Regions from separate parts of the Homo sapiens genome. Here region 2 is linked to region 1. Evidence: promoter capture Hi-C in 16 types of primary human blood cells and fetal thymus (Javierre and others, 2016). All regions are on one chromosome and are shown on one strand. Each heading gives the region's core, a stretch centred on a gene start or on the middle of the fragment in contact. The rest is flanking DNA. Distances are from core to core; before and after follow the strand shown.

What was found. The method cuts DNA at HindIII sites, captures the fragments that hold promoters and counts their contacts. A CHiCAGO score of 5 or more calls a contact.
Region 2: a contact is called between a fragment that was not itself captured here and the fragment with the promoter of OR1G1 in region 1, in 1 of 17 cell types (M0 macrophages). The highest score is 5.0, in M0 macrophages.

The regions. Positions count from the first base shown.
Region 1 is chr17:3,123,641-3,129,219 of GRCh38, forward strand. OR1G1 (olfactory receptor family 1 subfamily G member 1) reads right to left here and starts at 3,911. Exons shown (of 1, transcript NM_003555.1): 1 at 2,970-3,911. The coding sequence starts at 3,911. The coding sequence ends at 2,970. The HindIII fragment of the contact is 3,090 bases long and covers 1,857-4,946 here.
Region 2 is chr17:3,643,478-3,648,460 of GRCh38, forward strand. CTNS (cystinosin, lysosomal cystine transporter) reads left to right here. Exons shown (of 12, transcript NM_004937.3): 4 at 3,967-4,045. It overlaps LOC105371493 (a long non-coding RNA gene), which reads right to left. Exons shown (of 6, transcript XR_007065579.1): 5 at 1,484-1,698. Among named protein-coding and RNA genes, the nearest start is that of CTNS, 9.2 kb to the left of the region's middle. The HindIII fragment of the contact is 2,739 bases long and covers 1,983-4,721 here.

The DNA of each region.
Region 1 (5,579 bases), core at 2,661-5,160:
AACCCAGGAGGTGGAGGTTGCAGTGAGCCAGCATCATGCCACCGCACCCCAGCCTGGGTGACAGAGTGAGACTGTCTCAAAAAAAAAAAAAGTATATAGGCACACCTCAAATACTATATGACAAACATGTAAACTGTGTTGTTACATGGACATTCTTGTACAAAAAATACATATAAAAGAGTAACAAATAATTTAAGTTAAAAAGGTAGAACTAAAAGTATGGATGCATGTTAATTTAAACAGTGAAAGGTGCATGTCTGTCAATGAATTAGGAGAGAATATGGGATGATGTAAAAACTTTTGTATTTTAAATTAAGTAGGCAGAGTTTTACTGTTAAGTACCTAGTATGCATTATTTGAAAGGTAGGTTGCAATCTTTCTTGCAAATGAATCTCTGTAGGTAGGTAATTCCTCATTAAATGCCACAATGTCCCCAAAAGTGTAATTTCAGCAGTGTCCCTTCCCGGTTCACAGTGCGGGCAATAAGTCATTCCTTATTCGCAGTTCCGAGGAGTGGATTCACTTTATCTGCCACTGCTCAGCTTTCATTTTAAGAAGGGCTAATGCAGGACAGTTCTCTGGGTGGCCTTGAATGAACCAGGTTTCCCCCTTTTCTTGCTTATAGTTTTCCAGAATAACTGTAGAATGTGACATCCTGAGATAGGGAAGAGCTGGATGCAACAGCCCAGGTTCTGATCCACTTGCCCTAGAAATAGGATGTTATAGAAAACCAAACACCACATGTTCTCACTCATAAGTGGAAGTTGAACAATGAGAACACATTGGCACAGGGAGGGGAACATCACACACCGGGACTTGTCGTGGGGGATAGGGGGCAAGGGGAGGGAGAGCATTAGGACAAATACCTAATGCATGCGGGGGTTAAAACCTAGATGACAGGTTGATAGGTGCAGCAAACCACCATGGCACGTGTGTACCTATGTAACAAACCTGCACGTCCTGCACTTGTATCCCAGAACTTAAAGCAAAAGCAAAAAAAAAAAAATAATAAAAAAATAAAAAAGAAATGTTCTTCAGCCGTTTAGCCAAGTGGATCCTGTGACCCCCAGGGTGTAAGGCCCAAGGTGGGCTGCCTTATAGGGTCTCTCAGCTGTAGTGTAAGTGGAGTACCTGCATGTGAGACTCATTCCCCCTGTGCAGCTTTTCTGAGCCTTGGGGGACCAGCTCGAGGTGAATCCTAGGCGTCTGTTGTTCCTTGCTGCCTATCTGTGAATAATAAACGTGCTTGATGTCACTTGTTGTCTGTGTGGGTGTTCTGTTTCACTCGACTCGGACAAGTTGGTAACCGGTGCACAGTGAACCTGCTTCAGAGCTTCTACCTCAATGGCTGACACCGATTGAAAATACACTACGTACTAGGAGTTAACCCTGTATGTGTATTTATGCACATTTCATTTAATTATCACAGAGAATGCTTTACATATATTATCATATTTAAACTTACAACACAATGAGGTAGGCTTTTTCTTTTTTTTTTTTTTTTCCAAACATTAAATAATTTCCTAGGATCACACAGCTTAAACGTGGCAAAGCCGGGGTTTGAACTTGATTCCACAGCGTCCACGCTGCTTACCACTTTGCTCTACTACCTTTTATTATCAGACGATCGTGTCTGGGCTTCAGATAAGGTGAATAGGGAGCTGGTGAGCTAGAATTGCTATTATCTACAGCAATTACCATCTATGGCACAGCAGCCTGCAGTCAGATACCTGAAGGTAAACAGACAACAAGAATGAAAAACAGCACCCAGTTGTGACATTTTATTTTCCTATAGAAACGTATTGGTTGTGGCTGTAACGTACTGTACAGAGTCTTGCCACAACGTCTACTGACAAAGCTTTCCAAGTCGTTTTTGGCAACCATGCACAATAATCAATGTATTCTGAAACCGTTGGCCTGAGTTGACCTTGGGAGAAATACGGAAGAGTGTGGTTAACTGTGGACATCAGTTATGAACTGGTGGCACTGGGCTCGCATGCTACGGTAAACAGCTGGAAGTTGATTCTGCAGGCAGTTTCAAGCCACTGGACATTTCTCTTAGTGATATAATGGTACCCTATGAAGATTAATCTGATTATGGTGTACAGAGTTGATGGAAGGCGGGTAGACTGAGGACTGAAGACCAACTAGGAGGAGGCTTTAATCATTCAGGCAGGAGAGCATAAAGTGTCCATAAAAATCATTCTTTTCCCCTAACTTTAAGTTGTAACCATTTCAGTGGGATTCAGCACCTATCAATGGTACCAGGCATTACGCCATGTGGTAAGCATTGGGGCTGCAGAGATGAAATGAGTGTGGAAAAAATTGCCCTGAAGAGGAACCTGAGGTTTTCACATGAAGTCTAAGGTGGCAGGAGGATTATGGGTCTTGGAGGCCTGGTAAGACACTGCAGTGAGTCTGTCTGAAGATGCCATCTCCATCAAGCCCTTCCTAGACCCAGTTCCTCATCACTGAGCATGGGAGCATCACAGATACGGGCAGTGCCTGTGGCAGAAACACTGTGGGTGGGGATCCGAGTGATCAGGATCACAGTGATGCTGGGGGAAGGTCGTCCTTCCCTGAATTTTATTCTTGGCCCTATACAACAGCCCAGCCAGATATTCCCTTATTTCAGTCATGAGCTGTCCCATGTTGTTTAAAAAGCATTAACTAATAACATTATTAAATCATCAATATTATTAACTATAGTAAATATAATAAGGCATGACATTATATTATACATCTGGATGGCTGTGGTTTTAGAACATAATTGTAAGAACTTCACCTGTGACATTGGCCTGATGATGGGTTATGATGCAGTCCTGTAGCTTAGACATGAATATTTCAGGTTCAGATCGTAGGTACTGGAACAGAGGTCTCTAGATTCTCTCCATCTTTCATTCTTCACTGCTTACTGTGGTGAACGCAGGTGCATGGAGACCCCCATATTGGATGTCAAGTCACTACCACTAAGGGGAATGAATTTTCCGAACCCAGATTAACTTTCTCAGGGAAGACTTTATTTCTTGGTTCCTCAAACTGTAGATAAAGGGATTCAACATTGGAGTTACCACTGTGTACATCACTGATGCAACTGTGTCCTTCTGGGCCGAGTGGGTTGAGGGAGAACTGAAATCAACACAAAAAGAAGTCCCAAAGAAGAGAGAGACCACGGAGAGATGAGAGCTGCAGGTGGAAAAGGCTTTCCGCTTCCCCTGAGCTGATGGGATCTTCAGGATGGTCGAGAAAACGTTCGTGTAAGAGATAATCAGGCAAAGCACACAAATGAGTCCTGTGAGACCCCCAGTGATGAAGATCACCAGCTCATTGGTGAAGGGGTCTGTGCAGGACAGACTCAGGAGGGGATTGATGTCACAGAAGAAGTGTGGGATCTCATGGTTTGCGCAGAAGGACAGGCTGTTCATCAGAAGTGTGTGTAGAAGGGAGTGGAGGGCATTCATGATCCAGGATGCAGACACGAGGAAGATGCAGAGCCCAGGGCTCATGATCAGAATGTAATGAAGTGGGTGGCATATGGCCACGTAGCAGTCATAGGCCATGACCGCCAAGAGGAATGCCTCCAGCATCACAAATAACATGAAAAAATACAACTGTAGTAGACACCCTGAGTAGGAGATGGCCTGACTCTGGATCTGTATGTTTGCCAGCATCTTAGGGACTGTGGTGGACACAAAGCAGGCATCTGCAAGGGAGAGGTTGGCTAGAAAGAAGTACATGGGGGTATGGAGTTGAGTGTCAGTAATGATGACTAGAATGATGAGGAGGTTGCCTGCCACCGTGACCAAGTACATGAACAGGAAGGACCCAAAGAGGGGCTTCTGCTCCTCCAGCTGCTCAGAGAACCCCAGGAGGAAACATTCTGAGATGCTGGTCAGATTTTTCCCCTCCATTTGTCTGTAGGAAGAAAGTTGGGTTAATTGGGTGACGTTGGTAAGCCCTGGATTGTGAACTCTGAAAATTATGCAATATTCCAGTGTTGATCTTCTAGTGTGAGGTTGGATCATAGGAAATCTCCACTATTTGACTCTTTGGGACCTGCAAAAATGGCCATTTCATAGGGTTCGACTAAATATTTGCAAATTCCTGTGCTTGGTGCTATGAGAAACCACAGATTTGTTTGTAATGCAATGAGAGGCTTTTAAATTTATTCCATAAGCATTAAGCCAATATGTGTATTTTGGGGCTGGGCTGGAGGGGCTTGCTGGCTTTGCTCTGGTAGTGTTCATGTAGAAACTATGACATTTATACAACCCAAGATTTTACAGGTCAAATGAGCCCATTGTACCAATAATTAAAAAGACAGCTCCTGGAAAGGGGTTTTGGAATTGGGAAAAGCATGGCTAACATGGAAATCATTATCACTGTTATCTACACAGCGGGTCTGGCCAGAAACCTGAGCGTCATTATTGACCCACGTTTCTCCCTCCCTGCCTACATCCAACCACCACCAAAGCCTGGCAATTTTACCTTCTCAATATGGCTACAATTTACTGACGTCTCTCTGTTTACTGGTCACCATCAGTCCCAGCTGCAGCTCATGTCATTCAGGGCACTGTGATTTCTCACTTGGATTTGGGCAGTTGATCTCCATGCCCCCAGGTATGCCCACCTGCCACCTGCTGTTCTAAATACACAGAGAATAGGCTTGCTAAAAATCAAATTCGACTCTTGTCTTTCTGCTTGAAAAATCCTTCATACACTCCTCATTACTCCCAGGATAAACTCTAAACTGAACACGGCTGAATGTCCTGGATCTTACCGTCATTTATTACAGACATCCCCAGTTCCTCATGAAACTCCCTCCTCCACTCCACACTTTATGCACTAATCATAGTTTCAATTATTTTAAAGGCCCAGATACTCCCTCACCTTTAGGCTTTCTCAGGCTGAAATAGTTTTTCCCATCCCATTTATCAGACGAGCTAAGCTTCAGGTCTCACCTTAGATGTCACCTCTTCTGGGAAGTCTTTCCCAACTCATCCTCTCACCAGAAACTCAGGTTCGTGACCTTCCTAATGCAGTGCCTCCCCCATCACAGCACGTGTCACCTTGGATTCTGAGTGTCTGTTTATATGAGTGTCCCTCATTCTGCTGTGAGCATCACTGGGAGTAGGCAGAGATGGTGCCTAATTGGCTCAGCTTTGAAATCTAGCATTAGCCTTGAGGCTGGTACAACACAGATGCTCAGTATGAATCTATCATGTAAATACATAAACCCCAGAGAATGGAAAGAGTGGGAAGAATGGAAAGGGGCTTTGCTATAGAGGTAATATCAGGCATAAGAATTAGCCTGAACCTTTATTATTATTGTTATGATTTTTGAGATGGAGTCTCACTCTGTCACCCAGGCTGGAGTGCAGTAGCACGAACTCAGCTCACTGCAGTCTCCACCTGCTGGGCTCAAGTGATTCCCTTGTCTCAGCCTCCTGAGTAGCTGGGATTACAGGCCACTGCTACCACACCTGGCTATTTTTTTTTTTTTTTTTTTTGTATTTTTAGTAGAGATGGGGTTTCATCACATTGGCCAGGCTGGACTTGAACTCCTGACCTCAGGTGAC
Region 2 (4,983 bases), core at 2,102-4,601, 520 kb after region 1:
CAACACTTTGGGAGGCCAAAGAGGGAGGATCACTTGGGCACAGGAATTTGACACCAGCGTGAGCGACATAGTGAGACCCCATCTCTACAAAAAAAAATTTTTTTTTAAACGGATTCTCACTCAGTTGCACAGGCTGGAGTGCAATGTGGCGTGATCTCAGTTCACTGCAACCTCTGCCTCCCGGGTTCAAGCGATTCTAGTGCCTCAGCCTCCCAAGTAGCTGGGTTTGTAGACGTGCGCCACCACATCCGGCTAATTTTTGTATTTTCAGTGGAGACAGAGTTTCACCATGTTGGCCAGGTTGGTCTCAAACTCCTGACCTCAAGTGATCTGACCGCCTCAGCCTCCCAAAGTGCTGGGATTACAGGCGTGAGCCACCGCACCCGGCCAAAAATTTTTTTTTAATTAGCTGGGTGTGGTGGTGCATGCCTGTGTTCGTAGCTACTGAGGTGAGAGGCGGCAGTGGTGGGAGGATGGCTTGAGCCTGGCGGGGTCAAAGCTGCAGTGAGCCATGATCACTCTCTTTAGGAGGAACTCAGGATGGTGTTGTGACTCATTTTGTAAATCTGATACAATGTAAAGATTTTAGACTTGGGGGGCCAGCTTCCTAACTGCCTCCCACCTTGGGCTAAAAATATCCTGCAGTTATCATGTGATGATAATAATAGTAACAATTATTTAGCATCTGGGCTTTGTGGAAAACATGTTACAAACATTGCTACATTGTATCTTCACCATGACTCATTCAGATAGGTCTTGGTATTCTCCCCACTGTACAGATAAGGAAATGGAGGCTCAGAGAGGGTAAGTACCTTACCCATGGTCACACAGCTAGGAAGTGTCAGAGCCAGGATGGAACTGCGTGACTTTGGAGCCCAATATCTCAGTTGCTGAGCACCTCAGTTTTCTGTGGTGCTAAAGAAGGAGGGAATAAACATTCTCTGGTCTGGTTCTTGGAGTGTTCACAAACTCCTATTTTATTTTTTTATTTTATTCTATTTTGTTGAGACGGAGTCTCACTCTGTCACCCAGGCTGGAGAGCAGTGGCGCAATCTCAGCTCACTGCAGCCCCCGCTTCCTGGGTTCAAGTGATTCTCTTGCCTCAGCCTCCCGAGTAGCTGGGATTACAGGCGCCTGCCATCACGCCCAGCTAATTTTTTGTATTTTTAGTAGAGACAGGGTTTCACTATGTTAGCCAGGATGGTCTCTATCTCCTGACCTCGTGATCCACCTGCCTCGGCCTCCCAAAATGCTGGGATTACAGGCCTGAGCCACCGCGCCCGGCCTAATTTTTTGTCTTTTTGGTAGAGATGGGGTTTCGCCATATTGGCTAGTCTGGTCTCCAAATCCTGACCTCAGGTGATCCACCTACCTCGGCCTCCCAAAGTGTTAGGATTACAGGTGTGAGCCGCTGTGCCCGGCCCTCAACCTCCTATATGCAAAGATTGTAGGAGCTCTGTAGCCATGTAGATCTCCCACTCACCTTGACCTCCACTACCTCTGGCAGAGCCCTAGGGATCCAGAGTCTGGCTGGCCGCCCAGCATCACTTTCAGCATCCTGTCCTGAGCAGTGGCTGGTTGTGGGACTTGCTTATCTGGCATGGTCCTCAGCTCTAGGCAGAATTGAACTGGTGGTACAGGAAGTCCCAGCTATGCAAGCCCAGAAGAAATCCTCAGAATGACCTCAGAACAGTGAGCCTGAAAAAGAAGGGCAGACTCGCCACAGCGGCTTCCAGGCTCTGAGGCTCCACATAAGGAAGGGACTGCCTTTTGCCGCTCTGAGCACCTTGGCCTCTGCAAGGGCCAGGGGACATCCTGTTCTGAGGAGCCCAGCCAGCCAGCAGGGGACTGGAGATTGTGGACTGTGGGGACCTACGGACTTGGGACAGAGCTTCCATCTGTATTCACATGTGCTGAGCATGGAGAAGGCAGCTCTCAGGGTCTGAGAGGCTCTGGGTAGCAGAGCCTGGCCTGGCAGGGCAAGCTTCAGGCTGTGATCTCCTTAGAGGAGACGAGGTTACAGAGGAAGAGAAACTACCAGGTAGGAGTATTGAGGCGGAGAATCAGAGGTCAAATTGGGTAACTTTAAGTTTCCTTCCGGGCCAGGTATGGTGGCTCACACCTGTAGTCCCAGCGCTTTGGAAGGCCAAGGCAGGCAGATCACCTGATGTCAGGAGTTCAAGACCAGCCTGGCCAACATGGTGAAACCTCATCTCTACTAAAAATACAAAAATTAGCCAGACGTGGTGCTGCATGCCTATAATTCCAGCTACTTGGAAGGCTGAGACAGGAGAATCACTTGAACCCAGGAGGCAGAGGTTGCAGTGAGCAAAGATCATGCCACTGCACTCCAGCCTGGGCAACAAAGCGAGACTCTGTCTCAAAAAAAAAAAAAAAAAAAAGTTTCCTTCCAACCCAAGCGTCTAAAATTTCAGATCTCAATTCATCTGCCTTTGAGGGGTCTGAGTGACAGGGTCTGGGTGGGGGGAACTGGGCCTGGGGGGTCTGAGTGACGGGGTCTGGGTCGGGGAACCGGGCATGCTGGCAGCCTCTGCCGTTGCAAAGACGCTCCTCATCACAGTCATGCACCTGCTTCCCCGCCCGGCCTAGAGTCATGACCATAACCCCAGGCTGTGTGTAACCCTGAAGGCAATCAGGCAGGGGAAGTGAGATGGCAGGTGTGGCATGAGCCTTCCAGTACCCCTGGGAGCAGAGGCTGGGACGGGGCTGCACAAAGAATACAGGAAGCACACAAAGAGAGGCTTACTCAGTCCGGTGCTCTGGGCTAGTTGGCCTTGCAAGAGGGTTTTCTTTCTTTTTTTTTTTTTTTTGAGATGGAGTCTCGCTCTGTTGCCCAGGCTGGAATGCAGTAGCGATCTCAGCTCACTGCAACCTCTGCCTTCCAGGTTCAAGCAGTTCTCTGCCTCAGCCTCCAAAGTAGCCGGGACTACAGGTGCATGCCACCAAACCCAGCTAATTTTTTGTATTTTTAGTAGAGACAGGGTTTCACCATGTTGGCCAGGACGGTCTTGATCCTCTGACCTCGTGATCCACCTGCCTCGGCCTCCCAAAAGGCTGGGATTACAGGCATGAGCCACCACGCCTGCCCAGTTTTCTTTCTTTTTTTAAGAAAATATTCTGTAGAAACAGAGTCTTTCTGTGTTGCCCAGGCTGATCTCCAGCTCCTGGGCTCAAGCAGTCCTCCCGCCTTGGCCTCCCAAAGCGCCAGGTTTCTAAGCGTGAGCCACCACGCCCAGCCCCACGATGGTTTTCTAAGACCCTAAGACCCAGATCTGCTTCTTCCCTCATCTGGGGGCCTGTTTGTCAACTTGATTCTGAGTTAACAGCTTAATGCCAAGAAGAAATCTCAGAGTGAAACAACTATTCACCCTTCCTCCTCCAGTACCCCGCAGATAGTCAGCCCCAGGAAGGGGACCAGTGCCAGGGTGAGCTGGGTTGGGAAGGGACCCCAAAGGGCTCCTTAGAAACTCATTAGCTGGGCCCATGTGTCTCTCTGAGAGTGCAGGAAAGGGGCTGGCCCAGTTCTTCAGGACCATTTTGACTTCATGAACAGAGGAGACCCCTGTGCTTTCATCTGAAGAGGTGGTTCACGGCTGCCTTTTACGCTCCCAGGTCACGCTGGAATTCCCCTGTAATGATTTTTGGGCTCCATGGTTCTCTAACAATCTCTGGTTAACTCAGCCGCAGACTCTCAGAGCCTGTCATCGCAGCGGGAGGAGGACGCTCCGGCGTTTCCTGCTCAGGCCTGTTTTCCTCCATCTCTGTCTCTGGCAGCAGGTGGGGAAGGAAGCTAACCAGGGCCTGTGTTTGCAGTCCCATCACAGAATAGGGCTCGTCAGAGAGTCAGAGCTCAGGAGTTCAGATGTCAGGGGTTTCGGCCCAGTTTTCTGTCACAGGCCTGAACTCTGACCCAGTGCCTCATGTCATTGATTTGGGTCCTTCCAGAGTCAAGCGTCAGCCTCACTGTTCCTCCTGTCGTAAAGCTGGAGAACGGCAGCTCGACCAACGTCAGCCTCACCCTGCGGTAAGTTCCTGGGCCTGGCGCTGTGCTCAGCTCCGCTCAGGCCCCGCAGCTGGGTCAGGGCTGACCCCTGGCTCAGTCTGTTCAGATTTCAGATGCGCTATTCTTGCCTCTTACCTGTAAGACAAGCCCTAGAAAAAGGGATGGTGCTAGCCCCGGGCTGCAGGATGGGATCGCAAAGGCTGACCCCCACCCTGAGTCCTCACTTTCCCTGGCAGGAGAAGGAAGGGGTGCTTCTCCCAGAGACGTGCGTCTTTTCCCCGCATGGGAAGAGTCCTGTGTGACCGGTGTTGAGGCCAGATTTCAAAGCGATTCTTTCTAAGACTAAGTATTTGAAGAGAGCCCTGAAGGTCAAGGGGCAGGGAGCTGAGCTGCTGGTTGGCACTTCTGAGGTTGCTTTCAGAAGCAGGAGTGGCCACGTCGGGTGAATGCCGCTCATGCTGGGCCTTGTCTGGGAGTCTCACTTGCTGCCACCTGCTGGCTTAGGCACAAACGTCGCGACCTAGTCCAGTCTGTGCCAGGGAGGCTGCCTCTGCCTTCTCTGCTCTTAGCTGCTTTGTCCTTCCCTTGCCTCCCAGCCGTGAGGATTCCCTGATGAAGAAGACCTAGAACCCTCTCCTTCTCTCTTTATGCCTTTCCCCCTTCCTCGCCTCTCCTGCGAGATCTGGCCTGAAAGCAAAGCTTTGGTTCCGAGGCCCCTAGCAGGCCTGCCATTCCGCTCCCAGCTCCTTCTGTCTCTGCACACCCTCCCCCTGCAAATCTTACAAGTCATCTCTTACCACAACTGTCCAGGCCCCTGGAGTGGCCTCCCACTGCCTTTCAGATTAACTCCAGGCCTCTAAACCCAGGGCCAGGGCCCAGAAGACGGCTTCCAGCCAGCACATCTGCCTTCTCCCGTCAGATGCCTCTCCCAGCTTTCCAAGTCCGGACTGCTCCCTCCT